Linked DNA regions of Homo sapiens: all the other regions are linked to region 7. The links are contacts of gene promoters, found by promoter capture Hi-C in blood cells and fetal thymus (Javierre and others, 2016). All regions are on one chromosome and are shown on one strand. The core of a region is centred on a gene start or on the middle of the fragment in contact, and the rest is flanking DNA. Distances in the headings are between cores, read along the strand shown. Region 1 has its middle 200 kb from the start of PIK3R1. Region 2 has its middle 170 kb from the start of PIK3R1. Region 3 has its middle 150 kb from the start of PIK3R1. Region 4 overlaps PIK3R1 (phosphoinositide-3-kinase regulatory subunit 1). Region 5 overlaps LOC105379013 (a long non-coding RNA gene). Region 6 overlaps PIK3R1 (phosphoinositide-3-kinase regulatory subunit 1). Region 7 holds the start of CD180 (CD180 molecule).

Region 1 (2,700 bases), core at 127-2,626, 1.2 Mb after region 7:
TAGAGGTAATGGGCTTTGGGGACAATAAAGGCAGGAATGGGTATAGCCAAAGAATGAGAGGAGAATGGGCCCATTAAAGTCAAGGAAAATGAAAAGCTGTTTGATAGTAAAATATATACACAAATGGATAACAAATTTAATTTGTGAGCCTTAAGAAAGACTCAAAATTATAATAGGCCACATTAAATTTGATTATTGGAAACTTTCAAAAGAACCCTTCTTATGTGCCCCAGTTGCTACAATGACATTTCCAATTCAATGTATTAAATGATCACTCTATAGGATTGGCCCTCGGCCGACTGACACCTGCTTCATCTCTGCTTTCTGGTGTTGAATATAAATTAATGTTCTTCATTTATTGTACCTTGTTTATTAAACTAACCTTCTGACATTTCACCAGTGCTCATTAGGGTTAAAGTCTGTCTCCTACTCAGAAAGGGTGACTTTGAGTTAGGTGAGGCTCAGGCTGGTTGGGCTCAGCTGTGGGGCTCCTTAACAATTGTGGGAGGAATTGTGGGAGGGAAGCAGGTGGGTCTGAAAGTCCTGGTGGGAAATGATGCTGAAATGTAGACAAAGGAGACACTGAAAATTACCCTTTTGGTCTGTGTTTTGCAAACTATTTGTATGGTCTCTTTTTAAAGGAAAAATTTGACATTTCAGGATTTTCAGTGTTTTATCATTTTACTTAATTACGAAAATGCTTATAGGTACTGAACACATGTACACACCTGTAGTACAACTCTAAATCCCAAAGAAATAAGCTATAAAAACTATAAATTCAAATTAGCAAAAGTAATTTAATAAGGATGGTTCTGTTTTACTGAAACAGAGTCATCTAGATTGATTTAATAAGACAAATGCATTTGCATGCTTTATGTCTCATTTTTTGGACTTGATTCTTTTGCTTTTGATAAGGCATTATTTAAGACATTATTGTTATTTTTCTTTAAAAAATTAACTCATTTTAAACCAATTAGGTTCATGGGCCACTTAAAACTGTGTTTCAAAATGCAATACTAGCAGGAAAAAACCCATTGAATTCCACTGAATAAGGAGTTTTCCACTGTCTTTTTGTAACTACCTGTACTGCCCCCTTATGAACTGCTCGATGTGCTGGAGTACAAAGATGGGTGCCCACTAACATGTTTGCTAGCCACAGGGTCTTGATGCTGACCACTGTGACTGAGTCTTTGAACAAGGCATGACTGGGCTGCCAATTGCTGAGGGTATTCAATTTCTTCACTATTCAGTTTCCTCATTTAAATTGTGAATGCTGCTTCTACTCATCATGCTATGATGCCGTTTGGTCTTCAGTAATGCTAAAGGGATAGGAACATAAATGCAAATTCAGACATAGAAACTGAGTAGCGGAGCTCAATTACAAGGTAATTGTTTCATGTCCAGAACTGCTTGTAGTAATGTACAAAATTACAAAGCCAAAACTATCACAGAAATTCTACACATTAGAGAACACATCCATGTTTGCACAACATCTTCCTAGTTTGTTGTTTTGCCTGGGACTATTGGACCTTGTTAATAGATTCGTCTAAGCACAGTTAATAAAATAACTTTTTGGCATTCAGAAATGTACTGTAGAGGGCTCTTATAATGGGATTATGGGACTGTGGAGAGATGACCCTTATAAAAGCATGTGATCATCATAGGTAAAAAGATTTTTTTTTTTTTTTTTTTTTTTTTGCTAAGGTGTGCTCCTAATTGAATTTTACTTTTCTGCTTTAGCTAACAAAGTTTTTTTAAAAAATGTAATGACTTTTGAAAATATATCATTACTTTTAACTTAACATATGTGCAAACCAACATTCACAGTTTCAAGTTTATGTGTTTCTGGTCAAGCCAGAGGCTGCTCCCTTGCAGCATTTTAATACCTCTGGTGGAAAAAAAAAAAAAAAAAATCATTTCTTGTTTGATACAGAAAAGAGAAAAGAACAAAATTAAATAAAAATGTTTTATGCCCCTTTAAAAAAGTTAACCTGAAAACCCAAAAGTTTATTTTGATTTCTGTTGGATAGAGACCATCACCCAAGGGATAGGTTTGCCGACAAAGGCACCAGAAATTTCTATTAAGTGCCTTATTTCATGCAGTGCTTCATTTAATTCCTGAAGACAGATTTCCAGTCTGCACAAGTACCAACACACATGTATTCATACTTTCCCCACAGCTTGCCGAAACTTAGGTGTCAAAGTCTCCCGCAATAGATTACTCTTCTATGAGGGAATATGCAGACTTGCTAGTCCATGGGCCATTGTTCCCTAGCACTAAGTTGAAATGATTCTGCCAACCGGGACCCCAGAGATATCAGAGATTTCATCATCTGGTGCCTAGCTGAGCTGCTCAAGGTCATTGACTAACTTAATGGCTCAGAAGATTATTGCAATCCTGAAGGAAACATTCCAGGACAAGTCATTCCTATTTATAGAAATAGCTTAAAAATGTTCCCAATAAACTCTTTACTCTGTCTACTTGACTTAAAATATAATTCTATTGCTCAAGTATTTACATATATATAAATTCGTGTGTTTGTATCTGGACAGGTAATGATGTGTACTTTAGGGACAAATCTTTGGTTTGCTTCTTAGAAATACATAGTCTTCATTCCACCAAACGCCCCCCAAAATTTATTTTTTTAAAAAATTGTGGCAGAGCCTGCCAGTTGTCCTCTACTATTCATTTTCACCTTT
Region 2 (2,700 bases), core at 22-2,521, 1.2 Mb after region 7:
TCTCTGTAGAGATTATCTAATCTAAGAGTTGCCAACATCTGTACCTACAAGAGCCAGGCAGTTAATACGAATGAGTCATGATGGTAGGGACGAGTAGGGCAATAGGTGGAGCCTCTAGGGTCATGGAGAGGAGGGCAGGATCCACCCAAAGAGGCACCCATTACCCAGGAATACCACTGCTGCCATGTAGAGATATGGCCCAGTATTGCCAGTGTCTCTGATTATGAAATGGTAGTTTCTATGTGAAATTTACTGATTACTGTGGTTTGAATGTGTCCTCCAAAGATCATGTGTTGGAAACTTAATCCCCAATGCAACAGTGTTGAGAGGTAGGACCTTTAAGAGGTGATTAGGAATGGATTAATGCCATTATCTCAGGAGTGGGTTAGTTATCATGAGAGCTTGGCTCTATCTTACTTGTCTGCTCTTGTGCTCTCTTGCTCTTTTGCCTTCTGTTACAGAATGATGCACAAAAGCTTTTTCCATATGCTCTTGGACTTCCCAGCCTCAAGAATCATAAGTCAAATAAACCATTTTTTTAAATCAACTACCCAGTCTGTGGTATTCCAGTCTAAGGTATTCTGTTACAGCAACACAACATAGACTACGACAATGATATTTAAGTCATTATTTAGCTCTTATACACACACTTATACACACATACTCAAGCTAAATAACAACAAAAAAATTTACGTCTAGATCTGGTCCTTGCATCACTGATTTAGAATACCTGATTTACAGCAATTGTACATTTAACAGATGGAGAAACAAGATCTATAAATGTGAGATGACTTGCCTAAGGTCATACAACTAGCTAGTGAGAGAGCTGAGACTAGAACTCAGCTTTCCTGACTTTTCAATCTCAGTTGATTTCACTACACCATACTGCCTTACAAGAAATGTTTTTGAAGTTACAGAAAAGTTCAAACTACAGAATACCTAAGGGAAAATCGTTTTATTCTCCTCTATTCCTCATTTCTCAGAGTTTTAATGATTAACCACAGCCATCAAATACATGTCTGAGACTGCCATGTGTCTGCATCTCAAGTCCTTTTCAGCTGATTGTACCTTTAGGATTTTTCTTGACAATGGCAATGAGTGAGCATTTGGGCCATCTACAAAGGGGACAAAATACAGTGCCTTGATTTAACATGTTGGGGAGTTTCAAAAGAAAAATCCCCAGTGCTTAGGCTTGCAGGCTGCTATAGACTGCACTGCAGTGCTCGTAGTCCCAGGGCCAGCAAAATCTTGACAGTTTATCATTTGGAGTAGGAATCAGCAAGTCCTAGTTTCATTTCCTACCAGGAATAGACAAAGCCTCCACAAGAAAATCATCCCTTGATGGCTGATAAAAATAGAATTGCAATTTATGTTTCCATCTACTCCCTCTATCGTCAGGCTCTTAAGGTGTACTTTCTGTCGTAATGGCTGATTTAGATGGATTCTTGGGGTGCTGGATCACTGCTGATGACATTAATGGTCTTGGGCTCCTTGAATCTTGATTGATTGCTATAATCTGTGAAACTATTTCAGGACATAGATTTATTATTATTAAGCCTATAAAATGGTGTCAGGGTCAAAGCAAACTGACGATGTGTGTTGTGATGCAAACATGGCCAAGGTGTGGATGCCACCATTTAATAGAAGTGAATGGCAGGAAGGAACAGTGTTTCATCCTCCACTCATGACCTGACTCAGGCCTTCTCCAAAAGGGGTAGTGAATTTGAGCTCCATTTGCACTGGGCAGGGGTTGAGAAGGGGGATGCAAAGAAGATAAATGTATACTATCAATTATTCTCCTACATTTTTGAATTCCTTAAGGAACTTTTGATAGAATTTTCTTTTCAGTTCACTTAAAACTGAAATGAAAATTTAGAAGTGGCTAAAGATTTTCTCCATTTTTCTCTGGCCCCCAGATAGTGTCTAGCTTTCGTAGCTCAAACCTGTTGTTTTTGGACTCTGAGAAAATATTAATATCCCACTTAACCTCTATCAAGGAGAGAAGAAAAAGCTAAGCAGGGAATTATATTATAGCTATTTTATCCTTCCTTTCTTCTCTCCTTTCAGAAAGCTTCTGGTTCCTCTATTAAGGGCAAGGAAAAGGATTTTATATTAGACTGGGTTCCAGAAAGATATTCTCAGAATCACCATTTCAAACTCCTCTTTAGATGGGAGGGAAGTATTCAACAAAATAATAATTCATGTTTTCAATTTACCTGTGGAATGTAGAAAGCTAGGAAGAGCTCCAATCTCATTCTTACAGCAATATAAAGTCAGACAATTGTATATTTATAACCTTTTATAGATTTCTCAAAAAGCTGAGGTCATAAGTCAACCAACTAACTCACAATTTAAGGAAGACAGGTGACTGCAAGAAGAGGTGGATTGTGAACACTCTCCTTTTTCCTAGGGCTCATACAATGAACACCCACCAGCAAGAAGAATTCAGCTAAAATTACTAATGAATTGATTGAGAGTGGCCAATGTAGACTAATGAGAAAGTATAGAATTCTGGGGGCCACAGATAGAAGGTGAATTCATGAAGGATTGTCTCCACTGACCTCAGTGGATGCTCACATAAAAGACTGAAAGAGTCCTGGGAAAGCATCCCTGGGGGTGCAGGTTGGGAGAGGGGAGGAAGCCTTTCTCCAGAAAGGCTTCACACTTTGCCCAGCTTTTTTCCCCAGAGAAACAAGTTTT
Region 3 (2,700 bases), core at 139-2,638, 1.2 Mb after region 7:
TGGGTCAGTATGTCTGAGGGTATGAGGAAGGGGGAAATGAGAAAAAGATTACAAGTGGTGTGACCTGGAGGCTAAGTTGGCACCCAGGGCTTATGCGAGGCACAACAGATACCAAGTCTGTGGGCAGCCAAGATAAACTCCAGGCCCCACATCTGGAGGGGCTGAGGCAGCTGATATGCTTCCTACCCTAGTCTAGACTAGCTCAGCTCCCAGGCATGAATGAGCCTAAATGTGGAAGACATTGGAGAATTTTGCCGTGAGTAGCAAGAAAGATGAAGCTTGACAGATGCTGGTGCAGGCAACCAGGTATCACTTATTATTTAGGAGGCAAGATGTCATAATGCTATATTAAAAGTGTCAAATTTGGGTCATTGTATAGAACGCATCGAAAGAAGAGTCAGGGAAAAAACAAGACTGTTGCATTTATCTTGGCCAGAGATGACAGAATCTCAGCATTTGGACCACAGCTACTTTCTCCTATACCCATGACAGACACCTCTGATTGATTAAAATATTCTCTCCTGCTGATCCGAGACAAGGCATCAGAGTCTTTTCAAAACTCTATTCTGCCTAGACAGCCACTCTGACAGATAGAAACTGGCATGCAAAGCCCCTGGTCTAGGTGTCAGCTGCTACGGGGTGATGACAATTGGGAGAGGTGAAAAGGGAGAAAATTCTGTGGAAATAATCAGTAGAAGTCAGTGCCTAAATTTTCTGTGGGGACAAGATAGGGCAAGTTTGAAGAAAGTCAAGCTCAAAGATCATAGCAAGGCTTCATTCAAGTCTTAGGATGTAGGAGAATATGTGCCATTAAGAAAAGTACCCTTTCTGGAAAAGCAAAAACATAAACCACCACCCCTCAAGGAATTCAGAAAAATGAGCTGGTTGACGGAGAAAAGATGACTTGTTCACTTTCTGAGGTCCTGGCAACACGTGCAGGTAGAGGTGTCAGCCCAGCAGTTCGTGTTGGATATTCTTCAAACAGTAACTGCTTTTAAACTTGCTGTCTCAGTGTGTGGATGGGTGCTCTGGGAAGACACAAAGAATGTGTTGGATACTTTGTCCTTGAGAAGTTCAGAAGATAATAGCAGCACAGGGACACCCACACATGACTAATAAGGACATGTAAAACCCAAACAAATCAAACAGAAACCACAGGCACATACTTAGGGAAGGGATGAATAATTGGAGAAAGGAGGCAAGTCATGGAAGGTGAAGGTAGAACTCGAAGAAGCTCTGAGCACGAGCACACCACCGGAGCCAGAAAATGACCTGGACTATTCCATGTGCATATCTAGTTGTCCAAAAAGGGCATTCCCATCTTGAGAATGCAAAACCAGTCACTGATGTCATTATATGATGTTTACTTATTGTCAGCCATATTCTAGGCATTATGGCAGTGGTCAGAAACCCTTTGCTCTTAAGGATCTCACAGACCTGTGGGTGAGAGAGATGTACCAAGTCATTACACTATAACACAAGAAATGCTGAGATACGAGTATGCAGATGCAGAGAACAATATAGGTGCACATAGCAGGGTCTAACACAGCCTGAGGGGGCAGGGCTGGCACCCTAGAGAGGAGGAAGCTGGAGGTGTACTTTCAAAGCAAAATAGAAAGATTGATTCATTTATCCATCACTGTCCATTCACATGCCAAGTTTCCCAGGTCTCCTGGGCAGCACCAGCAGAACAGAGAAGTGTGTAGGTGTGGAGTACCACTCAGGGTGGGCACTCTAATGCGGCTCCCCAGGCTTGATCCTGGAAACAGGCCAGAGAATTTTGAATCACCTTTTATTTATTTAGTCATTCATTCTTTTTTTTTTTTTTTTTTTTTTTGAGAGAGAGAAGCATAACAGAGCATTTATATCTTAACTGTTGTATTTTTTGTATGTTGGCTGGCTTCCAGAATAACCTGACTAAATAGACTCACCAGCCTTTAGAGCAGGCCCTCCAAGGAATCCTTCTCCTGTGCTGATGTTCCTAAAAGTCTTCTCTACCAGGAAAATGAAAGGAAAGCTGACCTCATAAAGTTGTTAAGACAAGGGTTTATTGCTGTTGTTTGTTTGTTTTATCACTGTTAAGGTCTCCTATCTTTAAAAAATCAATTTTTTGTAATTTTTTAAATGTCTGATTATGGTAAAAAAGACACACACATAGCAAAAGGTACTGTCTTCCCTATTTTTAAGTGTACAGTTCAGTACTGTTAAAGACAATCACATTGTTGAACATCCCATTTTTAGAACATCCCATTTTTAGAACTTTTTTATTTTTCAAAACTGAAACTACATATACGTTAAACAACTCCCCACTTTCCCCTCCCCCCAGTCCCTGTCAACCACCATTCTACTTTCTGTTTCTACGAATTGGACTATTCTAGGTACCTCGTATAAGTAGACTCATACAGTATTTGTCTTTTGGCGACTGGCTTCTTTCATTTAGCGTAATGTTTTCAAGGCTTATCCGTGTTGTAACATTTGTCAGAATTTCCTTCCTTTTTAAAGCTTGATAATATTCCATTGTATGCACATTCTGCATTTGGTTTATCCATTCATCTGTTGATGAATGAGTGCCTTTTGCCTCTTGTCTACTGTACATAATGCTGCTGTGAACATGGGAACATGGGAGTGCAGATGTCTTCTCAAGATCCTGCTTTTAATTCTTCTGGGTGTATAAAATGTGGGATCGCTGGATCACATACT
Region 4 (2,700 bases), core at 140-2,639, 1.1 Mb after region 7:
ATATACTTTGTTTGAATTAGTCAAAAACTGGCAATCTGCCTAGTCAATTTCCTGATCTAAACTGGATAAACGAGATTGTTTTAATACCTTCCACTCTGCCCAGGTACCTGAGTGTGGTTGCTTGAAAACAGAAATAGTACAGTTGATTGGTAACTCTTTGTCCTGGGAGGTTGCACTGGAGGCTGAATACCAGGAGAGGAAAACTCAGGTCGGGCAGAGGCAGGCATGTGATGGCCAGTCTGACTGGCTTGGTAGGGGCCAGGAGGGAAGTGACGGGGGTATGCCTAGGGAAGACAGCAAGGCAGGCTGATGGCTCCTGCACTCTTCATTTAGAAACTTTCTGTCCTGCCTGCCTAGCCAATATTCACTGGTGGAAGATGATGAAGATTTGCCCCATCATGATGAGAAGACATGGAATGTTGGAAGCAGCAACCGAAACAAAGCTGAAAACCTGTTGCGAGGGAAGCGAGATGGCACTTTTCTTGTCCGGGAGAGCAGTAAACAGGGCTGCTATGCCTGCTCTGTAGTGTATGTATCTCCAGCAAACTTTTCTTTACAACATCTCATGAAGAGATGTTTCATTTATTCATTCATTGAGTTTTGGGGGCAAAGATTTGACATAGTTTTAGTCTTGAATAAGCTTACAGTACAATAATGTAGAAGAGAAACCAAAGCAGCTGTAATACCATTTTAAAGTCTAGCCAGAAGTGTATGTTAATACAGTCTAATAGATACCTACTGTTTAGTTGGAAGACTAGGTTTGGATTCCCATTCAGTGCTAATTAATCATGAGAAATCGCCAAGTCTTTTTTTCTCATCTTTAAAATGGAAGTGGCAGTGCCTGCCTTTTTTGCCTCTCAAGGCTACTATAGTTAGAATCTGAGGTAATTTATGTGAGAACATCACCCATAGGAAAAATACTCATCAGGAACAGGTGAAAAAAAAAAGGATTCTGATCATTATCCTTGAGATAGGTACACCCACATTGGATCACTGACATCACCATTTCCAAGAAATTAATGTCCTCTAGTAGGGAATGGTTCTAAAAGTATGTTACACTCCATGATCACCTTTCATTTAATGAGAGAAATAGTCCTACAGCAAAGAAGGGTACTTTTGTCCTTACTGTGCATAAGGGCACATGCAGAGATGGAGAGTTGTGCAGACACCTCAAGGACAGCCAGAAAGAAGGAATCCTATGAATAGTCATAATGGGAGTAATAGTAACACTGCTAGTCATGGAGCACTGCAGATAGTTGTCCTCATCATGATTGGAAGCTACCACTTGTTGCATGCTTACTGCATGTCAGGCATTCTATCTAGCATTTTGCATGCATGATCTCATTTCATTTCTCAAAGTAACTGTATTACATGTATTTTACTATTGTCTTCCCTTTAAACCATTTTAAAGATGAAAATACAGTCAGTCAGTGAAGCTGGGTTACCTACCCAAGGCACTCGGCCAGGTGTCAGTTGTAACCTAGGACCCTTTCCCCAAGTTGAGACTGCACAATAATGCTTTTTATTAAAGATGCCCTGAAGAGTTGTGAATTGTCTTGGACAAGCTCAAAAGACAGTTTTTCTTCTCTCCTCTCTAGGGTGGACGGCGAAGTAAAGCATTGTGTCATAAACAAAACAGCAACTGGCTATGGCTTTGCCGAGCCCTATAACTTGTACAGCTCTCTGAAAGAACTGGTGCTACATTACCAACACACCTCCCTTGTGCAGCACAACGACTCCCTCAATGTCACACTAGCCTACCCAGTATATGCACAGCAGAGGCGATGAAGCGCTTACTCTTTGATCCTTCTCCTGAAGTTCAGCCACCCTGAGGCCTCTGGAAAGCAAAGGGCTCCTCTCCAGTCTGATCTGTGAATTGAGCTGCAGAAACGAAGCCATCTTTCTTTGGATGGGACTAGAGCTTTCTTTCACAAAAAAGAAGTAGGGGAAGACATGCAGCCTAAGGCTGTATGATGACCACACGTTCCTAAGCTGGAGTGCTTATCCCTTCTTTTTCTTTTTTTCTTTGGTTTAATTTAAAGCCACAACCACATACAACACAAAGAGAAAAAGAAATGCAAAAATCTCTGCGTGCAGGGACAAAGAGGCCTTTAACCATGGTGCTTGTTAATGCTTTCTGAAGCTTTACCAGCTGAAAGTTGGGACTCTGGAGAGCGGAGGAGAGAGAGGCAGAAGAACCCTGGCCTGAGAAGGTTTGGTCCAGCCTGGTTTAGCCTGGATGTTGCTGTGCACGGTGGACCCAGACACATCGCACTGTGGATTATTTCATTTTGTAACAAATGAACGATATGTAGCAGAAAGGCACGTCCACTCACAAGGGACGCTTTGGGAGAATGTCAGTTCATGTATGTTCAGAAGAAATTCTGTCATAGAAAGTGCCAGAAAGTGTTTAACTTGTCAAAAAACAAAAACCCAGCAACAGAAAAATGGAGTTTGGAAAACAGGACTTAAAATGACATTCAGTATATAAAATATGTACATAATATTGGATGACTAACTATCAAATAGATGGATTTGTATCAATACCAAATAGCTTCTGTTTTGTTTTGCTGAAGGCTAAATTCACAGCGCTATGCAATTCTTAATTTTCATTAAGTTGTTATTTCAGTTTTAAATGTACCTTCAGAATAAGCTTCCCCACCCCAGTTTTTGTTGCTTGAAAATATTGTTGTCCCGGAT
Region 5 (2,700 bases), core at 23-2,522, 1.3 Mb after region 7:
AAATTCAAAGTGCTAATTTCAAGAGGCAGTATCTTTTATAAGTAATATGAATTCGTGCTATTTGTCTATAAGGAAAACATGCTTCCTGTTCAGTAAAGTCATTTTCACAACCTCAGGAATGCTGCCATTATTAAGATAGTTAACAGCATCTTCTAAAAAAATTGTGGACTCAGGTTCATCATTTCAAACAGCTGATACACAATACACAATGTAGAAATTAAAGATAACTTGGCCAGGTGCGGTGGCTCACATCTGCAATCCCAGCTACTCGGGAGGCTGAGGTAGGAGAATCGCCTGACACCCGGGAGGCCAAGGCTGCAGTGAGCCGTGATTGCGCCACTGCATTCCAGCCTGGGCAACAGAGCAAGACCCTGTCTTAAAAAAAATAACCGAGCCACCAAGTGATCCTATCTTAGGAGATGGAAACCCCCATCATAAGAAGAGTAGGTAAATGTCTGCAGTCTAGCCTCTGGGAATGAAATTTCTTAAGGACGGGCTTCATGGATTTGGGGCTCATGAACCTGCAAGAACACTGGCAATCAAGAGAGTAAAAACATAACCAGAAGGGTTCAGAGTTTGGGAAGCTTCTTCGTAGCACTAACTGAGATATTGCTAATTAGTGGCTCTCCAAAATATTATTAAAATAATCTGTTGATTCTGGACAGTCTTTATTAGGGGAGGAGGCTGTCCTGTGCATTATAGGATGTTTAGCAGCATTCCTGACTTCTACCCTCTAGATGCCAGGAGCAGCCCCAGTCATGACAACCAGAAATGTTGCCAGACATGGCCAAATATCCCCTGGGAGGCAAAATCATCCCCAGTTGAGAACTGATGGCTTAAAGTTAATGGAGAACACTATTTACAAAAAATCTCACTAGAGTCTCGGGGTGCAGGTAGGGGATGGAGCAAAGTTGGGAGTATTTTTGAGATTGTGAAGTCTGGATTTTTTCCAATGTGTATCTTTTAGTGTGAGAGCCAGGGAGCCCTGGCTGGGGTCTAGTGAGGACCATAATCTAATCACTTAGAATGGGCAAACACAAGATGAAGATTTTGAGGGCAAAGACTCGGAAATGCTCAAATTTTAAAATTTTCCTTGAATGCTTTCTATTGACGAGTTGATGTGTCTTTGGGGAAATTCCTGGAATGAACAATACAGTTATTTGTAACTGTTATCTTCTTGAGGAAGAGTTTTCTGGAACAGTAAAGTTATGCTGATGAAGATCCTGGAATAGTAAAATCATGTTAACGTAGACTGTGTGGATATAAATACGTTTTAGATCTCAGTGAATTCCTTAAGTTCCTTGATTTTTTGCCCCTGCCCTTTTGCCCGTTATTACCACATTCAGAAAAGCCAATAAAATACAAAAAAAAAAAAAAAGAGACTAAAGAGGCAGCAGGAAGAAGGAGGGGCTCGGATGTTGCTGCTGGGCTCCATCCTGGCTTCACCACACTGACACCTGCATGACCTGGGTGAGCAACATACTTTCTCCAAACCTCAGCCTCTCCATCAATATATGGAAGTTGATAATAGTGACTCCTTCATCAAGTTGTGGTAGAGTTTGAATGAAATAATACATGACCAGTGCCCTAGACATACTATGCACTCAGTGGGTATAAATCAACTGTGTAAAACTAGGAAAACATGCCATCACTATGGTGCTTCTATGCTTAGACCAACATGCCTTTGGGGACTGCCTCATTCTTTCTGAAAACTAAGCAAATACTGGGTTTAAAAGGAAGCAGAAGTGTTGTCTCTGCACCCTAGAAATATTGTGTAGGGAGAGGTGGCTAACTCTCCTAAATCCTTCCACCCATGTTTTTAACTGAGCATGCTCTTGGATCACCACTAAAATGCATGGGGGAATTTAGGCTGTAATTTAGTAATGCCACTGTTTATAAAAGTAGAGGAACAATGAGAACACCATGGCATTAGTTTGGAGTAGGTTAAAAATTACTTTTCTGAAGCTTATCTACTAGAATGTTTATCTAAGCTATTTTTCATGGGACGTTTTAAAGACAATACCTTCCTTCAATAGCCATGACCTTGAATTCATTACATGGTGGAATTCTACTGCTTACTCTCTCCTAATTCTGAAAGCCAGCCATATTCTTCAAGTGGGAGACTCATTTGTACAGTGCCAGGTGCTGATCTAGGCACTTCATATGAACTTTCTCCTTTAATCCTCAGTCTGTAAGGTAAATACCGTGATGAGAAATCTGATACTCAGAGTCAAGCAATACAGTGAGGAGACCCAGCTGACACACAAGTGGAGGCAGAATTTAAGCCTTGTCTAGTGGGCTCCAAAGTCGATGGTTCTACTGCAGCATGTTACCACCTACATGTCTATTTCTCAAAACAGCAACAAACAGAAAAACCCTAAGATAACACATCAAACATCCTAGTCATGGTTTTACAGAGTCTGGGTCCATATGCAGTATTTGAACAGATAAACTGGTTTCTAGTATGTTGGCAAGGAAGGGGCAATCTTGCAAGGTGGATAGATCTAATCTGATTGTAAGGTGACTGAAATAACCAGACACCAGCCTCAGGGAGCCTCATTGCCAGTCCAGTTGTTTGCCTAATTTTAACCAGTGAATGAAGTAGATCCAATCCATTGGTTGACACTTAACTGCTGTTGATGGGGCTGAGAGGAAGAAAAACAAGTCCGTCCCCTCTCTTATATACCATCCTGTCCCCCA
Region 6 (2,700 bases), core at 15-2,514, 1.1 Mb after region 7:
GGGCAGAGAGACATTAGATGAAACATGCGGGGCAAAGTGTATGGGAAACCAGAAGCACGGCCAAGAGTGGTGACCATAGAGAATTCCTATAGCAGCACACACACAATTTTATTTGACAGTATTTAATTATGCTCACAATTGCATTACCTTCAACGTAGATCCTTTATGCAGAGGATCTACTACAGTGGTATTGCCCCTCCCACACTTGTTAAACATGTGATATGTCTCTGGTTGGTTGTTTGTAGGACATTTAAGTGATTTAACACTTCGCCTCTTCACCTTTTAAATTTAATAATTCTTTTCCTCAAGTTGACCTATCCATATCCTATTCCAGACCTACTTTTCTTAGAGCTGTGTGGTTGTGTGACTCACTTTCGGAACGTCGGCCTACCTAGTGGGGCAAGTTTGGTTTATGATGATATGTCCAAGGAATTTTTGTAGTCTTAGGCTCAACCTAGAATGATTTGTACTGTCATATTCCATTCAAGGTTATCTAGGATACTACCTTCTCCCACTCATTTATACTCAAACACTTTGCAGTAAACTTTCATACTTCCTCATTCTCTCCTAGGCCACAGCCCAATGCAGTCAATCACCGAGTTATATGAGGTCTCGATAATATTTTGTACATTTCTAACTGCATTAGAATTCAGACCCCCATCACCTTGATTCAGAGAACTAAATCTGGTAGTTTTACTTCTAGCAGCACTCCCTTCCAATTTATTCTTAACACTGTCATTAGTAAAGCTGTTACAAACGTAGTATCTTGCCCATCAGCCCACCTTTGCTCCACTGAGTACACAAGTCCCCAGATTACTTTCCTCAAGTTATCCTTCGCATTGCTAGTGTACATCCTTCAGCAGCAGCCAAAGTCCTCTCCTTTTCTAGAGGCCCATGGTCACCCCTGCCCCCAGATCTTTGTTTCTAGCATCCCTTTCTTCTGCTGGGCATTGTGTCTTTTTCCAACCCAAGTACTTAGAGTGCCATGCGTAGTGAGTGCCTGGAGGGTGGTATTGATTAGTTTTACCCCCATTATTGGATTGCTTGACCTGTTTCCCAGCTGAGGGATTTACTGGACAGGTATGCTCATCTTATTTTCTGAGATTGTCTGATATCCACAGGTTAGATTAGTAATACTCAGACAGAATTAGGGAGAAACATTCTAAAAATGTTCAAATTATTTTCATGGATATTCTTGAGATTGGTTGCTAAAAGTCTGTAGTATCTTACTGTTGAATCCATCACTCTGTTGGTGACATTTACATGAATTCTGAGACATATCAACTCAAGTCTTAGGAAATCTGGGAATATGCATTTTTAAATTTTTCCTGTTGAGGTTTTAGGAAACATTTACTATATGACTAACCATTCCTAGTTAGAACCCTTTTCAGTCAGGGCAGAACCACCCTCAGAGGATGTTAGGAAATGTTTGGGTTCTGTATTCGTTTGCTCAGGCAGTTATAACAAGTTACCACAGACTGCGTGGCTTAAAACGCAGAAACTTGGCCAGGCACAGTGGCTCACACCTGTAATCCCAGCACTTTGGGAGGCTGAGGCGGGTGGATCACGAGGTCAGGAGTTTGAGACCAGCCTGACCAACATGATGAAACCCTGTCTCTACTAAAAATACAAAAATTAGCCAGGCGTGGTGGTACACACCTGTAATCCCACCTACTCAGGAGGCTGAGGCAGGAGAATCGCTTGAACCCGGGAGGTGAAGGTTGCAGTGAGCCGAGATCACACCAGAGATGCACTCCAGCCTTGGCTACAGAGTGAGACTCCATCTCAAAAAGCAGAAACTTACTTCTCGTGGTTCTGGAGGCTAGAAGTCCGAGAAAAAAGCATGTTTGGTTTCCCCTGAGGCTTCTGTCCTTGGCTTGTAGATGGTCACCTGCTCACTGCATCCTCACAGCGTTTCTCCTCTGTGCCTGTGCATCCCTAGTGTGTCTCTCTCTGTGTCCTCATTTCCCCTCCTAGAAGGATATCAGTTACATTGGATTAGAGTCCACTCTAATGGCCTCATTTTAACTTACATGCAGTCACTTTCTGAGGCATTAGGAGTTTGGGCTTAGAGGGGTGGGACAGAGGATGGGGTAGGTAACCACTGAAGATGCAGCCCAATTCAGCCCATAACAAAGGCATTATTTTTTGTTGCCCCAAAGTGTGGAGGTCTGCTACTGGCATCATGGGCAGGGGGTCAGGCATCCTAAGTGCTTGCAATATGTCAGAGAGACCTCCACAGGAAAAATTGTTCTACCCCAAATGCCCGGAGCAACCCCTACAAGAAGTACGGCTAACGAATACTTTGTGTCTTGTATTTATCCTCATATTGCTTCCTTATTTTTTTTTTTTTTTGTCACATGTGAGTCAAATTGTTCAGAAAATTAGCCCAACTGATGTATTCTATAAAATAAATGTCTGAAATATTTCTTAAATTGTTTCCTAGATACACCCTCCGTGGACTTGGAAATGATCGATGTGCACGTTTTGGCTGACGCTTTCAAACGCTATCTCCTGGACTTACCAAATCCTGTCATTCCAGCAGCCGTTTACAGTGAAATGATTTCTTTAGCTCCAGGTTTGTTTTTTCTCTTCTGGGAACCTCATTGAACATACATGGAGATGTAGAGGTGCTTGTATATGTCTTGCATATATAGAAATAGTGGTTAGAAAATAGTAGTAATAACCTGTCCCTCCCCC
Region 7 (2,700 bases), core at 106-2,605:
CAGTCTCAAGGCATACACCCACCTTGGCCTCCCAAAGTGCTGGGATTATAGGCGTGAGCCACCACGCCTGGCCCAGTCTGTGGCATTTGTTATGACAGCCCAAGCAAAGCAACACACACCTTCCCAGCCTTCATTTCTCATTGGCATGATGCCTCCTCTTGGCCTGCTGCTGATTCCATCCTAATGCCAGACCAACAAGGCTCTGCTCACCCAGCTCTGAGCCTTACCCCAGTGCTGGCTTTGCTCTGCTCTTCCTGATCCTCTGATCTCCTTCTAGTCCTGCCCCAGGGCAACTCCACATCTGGCTATTCCTGGCTCTTACTCTTCTTTTTACCTCAACCCAGACCAGCAGCTCACCAAGCCACCAAGACTCATGGTTCCTCCTGTATGCAGCCCTTGTCTGACAGGCCACGTGGTATTGATCACTTGTGGGGTCAGAGAAAGTGGGAGGAAGTTTGAAGCATTTTAGAGGATGGCAAGAGACGGAGGCCCTTCTCCTTTTTCTCTCATTATCCCCTCCAAGAACTTCCCACAGGTTGATAAATATTGCTATGGTCCAAAACAGAAGGTGCAATTTGGCTCTATTCTCAGATTTTCCTCCTATGGGTTAGTAAAACAGATGGAAGGCTGTCCAAGTCCAAGAGAGAGCCAGACTCATTCAGAGTGATCTTTTCAATGCTCGAAAACCTGGCACAGCGCTGTCTTTACTAATTCTCACCCTGAGAGGAGACCAAAGGACTCATTGGGATAGAGGCCATGTGAGAGTGGGGATGTTAAACCAACAGCTCCCCTAGGTTGAGGCAGGTTTAGGGGTCTGCTTTGTGCACACAGACCCTATTAATATCTTATGACCCACTTGGGATTATTTGGGTGGAATTGTTTGAAGAGGAGAAAAATTCTCTTTGCTTCCTATTAAGATGCCACCAGATGATCCCCTGGCAGAGTTCTTTGGCTCCTTTCTCACAATAATGAAAAAATTATATATACACCTTATTTCCTTTTTAAAGACACTAGATATTGGGATGCCAAGGCTCAGATTGGACTGCGTGCTAAATCTCAAAATTTTCAGACAGTTTAATCTGCATAAAGACAAACAGTTTGGACTCACCTCAATGCACATCTGATCCCAGGAGGTGATGACTTTACAGCCGGCAGAAAACAGCACCACCCAAAAGAAGCAGCTGACGTCAAACGCCATCACAGGCTAGGATTGCTTGGTGGGTTTACCTAATGCTTGGAGCTGAGAAATGGAATCAAACTGTGAAGGCCCTGGCAATTTGGCAGCCAGAGAGGTACTCAGAAGGGTGATCTTGGAACAAGAAATGCTGTTGACTGCTCAGCATTCTGTGGCTCTGTGCTGGAAAAAAAAAAAAAAAAAAAAAAGGAAGTCCCTTTTGCATACCACCCATCTTTGCCAAAAATAACTGAGGACCCAACCCCAGAATGGCCCGTTGCATTTCCTGGCACTGAACATGAATCAGTTGTGCAGTCCTTTTGGGCTGATCACACAGACTCTCATTGTGATGGTTCCAATTGACTTTATGCCAACTTCAAGCATTTGGCCAACTCCAACAGCTTCTGGTCCTTTTCCCCGAGAGAGGCTGTGGAAGCTCTACTCACCAAGGAGGCCACTTTCTTAGTTGTCCTAGGTGAGTGAATAGAAGAGGTGTCAGAGAACATGGAAGGGCAGAGCACTCTGCAGGGGCAGACTGAAGAACTGAGCCCTTCAGTGGCACCTGCTGAGCTGGGAACTGGAGCAGGAGGGAGCAGGCTTGAGAGTGTATCTGCTCCTTGAGCCTCAGCTGCTGCCTTGGCCACCTTGTCCATCCCCACCTCTGGTCTTCGTATAGGGGGAAGATTACTTCATCTCTTGACCTGGCGGTTCAGGCTTGTTAAAGCAGTTGGGGTGGACTCTCTTGTTCCCTCCTAACCTGGCCTGGGGAAGTAGGGGACACTGCCATAGATAGAGCAGCCTGGCTAAAGGAGAGTAGAGTTAGGGATGCCAGCCTTGGCTCTATTTCTTCTTAGAAATAGCTTTGAAGCAGGATTACAATTACCCTTATTATGGAGCAAGATGTGGCAATGATTAAAGAAAGCCAAAGTTCAAACATTCCTCAATAGGCTGCATTTAGCTACCTGTTCTGTCTGTTCTTCAACCCTCTGGCATACAGGATATATTTGGTGTTACTGTTCTCCCACTCCATTTCCAAGAGCCCAGTTCTTAGTATCAGAGTTCACAATGACTTAACTACTGCTACTACTACTACTACCACCACCACCACCACCACCACCTCTACAGTATTACTATGATGAATCAAATGACTATAGTATCTGCCATTTATTGAGTCCTTACTATGTGTCAGACACTGGGTCAGGTTTAATGCAGTTTTTTGCTGCATTTTCCTATCCTCGAATATTTCCATATATTCTATAAGAGAGATATTATTATTTCCCTCATTTTATAGATGTAGAAACTGATGCTTAAGAGAAATTAAATGATCTCTCCAAGCCACACAATTAGAGAGTGGTAGATTAGGGCTTCAGATCCAGAAAATCTCACTGCAGAGACTATGCTGCTACTCTTCACAGTTTAAGAAAGGACTTTGCCTCCTGAAGGAGCTGAAGAGTAGATGGGGCGAAGAATGTTGTTCATCTGGAGATTTCAGAAAAGATGCTAAAAAGCAGAGGGGATTGGAGGAA

The links. Contacts are between HindIII fragments. The CHiCAGO score rates a contact against its expected background, and 5 or more counts as called.
Region 1: a contact is called between a fragment that was not itself captured here and the fragment with the promoter of CD180 in region 7, in 1 of 17 cell types (M2 macrophages). The highest score is 7.8, in M2 macrophages.
Region 2: a fragment that was not itself captured here is called in contact with the fragment with the promoter of CD180 in region 7 in 1 of 17 cell types (monocytes); the score reaches 5.5 in monocytes.
Region 3: a contact is called between a fragment that was not itself captured here and the fragment with the promoter of CD180 in region 7, in 1 of 17 cell types (monocytes). The highest score is 5.4, in monocytes.
Region 4: a fragment that was not itself captured here is called in contact with the fragment with the promoter of CD180 in region 7 in 3 of 17 cell types (activated CD4 T cells, non-activated CD4 T cells and total CD4 T cells); the score reaches 5.4 in activated CD4 T cells.
Region 5: a contact is called between a fragment that was not itself captured here and the fragment with the promoter of CD180 in region 7, in 1 of 17 cell types (non-activated CD4 T cells). The highest score is 9.2, in non-activated CD4 T cells.
Region 6: a contact is called between a fragment that was not itself captured here and the fragment with the promoter of CD180 in region 7, in 8 of 17 cell types (non-activated CD4 T cells, activated CD4 T cells, naive CD8 T cells and 5 more). The highest score is 20.1, in non-activated CD4 T cells.

The regions. Positions count from the first base shown.
Region 1 is chr5:68,416,077-68,418,776 of GRCh38, forward strand. No RefSeq gene overlaps it. Among named protein-coding and RNA genes, the nearest start is that of PIK3R1, 200 kb to the left of the region's middle. The HindIII fragment of the contact is 4,501 bases long and covers 1-2,700 here.
Region 2 is chr5:68,385,992-68,388,691 of GRCh38, forward strand. No RefSeq gene overlaps it. Among named protein-coding and RNA genes, the nearest start is that of PIK3R1, 170 kb to the left of the region's middle. The HindIII fragment of the contact is 1,595 bases long and covers 475-2,069 here.
Region 3 is chr5:68,367,355-68,370,054 of GRCh38, forward strand. No RefSeq gene overlaps it. Among named protein-coding and RNA genes, the nearest start is that of PIK3R1, 150 kb to the left of the region's middle. The HindIII fragment of the contact is 2,224 bases long and covers 277-2,500 here.
Region 4 is chr5:68,295,814-68,298,513 of GRCh38, forward strand. It overlaps PIK3R1 (phosphoinositide-3-kinase regulatory subunit 1), which reads left to right. Exons shown (of 16, transcript NM_181523.3): 15 at 358-528; 16 at 1,599-2,700. The coding sequence ends at 1,788. Among named protein-coding and RNA genes, the nearest start is that of PIK3R1, 81 kb to the left of the region's middle. The HindIII fragment of the contact is 1,503 bases long and covers 639-2,141 here.
Region 5 is chr5:68,457,164-68,459,863 of GRCh38, forward strand. The region is part of intron 3 of LOC105379013 (a long non-coding RNA gene); the gene reads right to left. Among named protein-coding and RNA genes, the nearest start is that of PIK3R1, 240 kb to the left of the region's middle. The HindIII fragment of the contact is 1,381 bases long and covers 583-1,963 here.
Region 6 is chr5:68,277,156-68,279,855 of GRCh38, forward strand. PIK3R1 (phosphoinositide-3-kinase regulatory subunit 1) reads left to right here. Exons shown (of 16, transcript NM_181523.3): 5 at 2,447-2,578. Among named protein-coding and RNA genes, the nearest start is that of PIK3R1, 63 kb to the left of the region's middle. The HindIII fragment of the contact is 4,294 bases long and covers 1-2,700 here.
Region 7 is chr5:67,195,444-67,198,143 of GRCh38, forward strand. CD180 (CD180 molecule) reads right to left here and starts at 1,356. Exons shown (of 3, transcript NM_005582.3): 1 at 1,109-1,356. The coding sequence starts at 1,198. RefSeq lists an enhancer at 180-329. The HindIII fragment of the contact is 10,485 bases long and covers 1-2,700 here.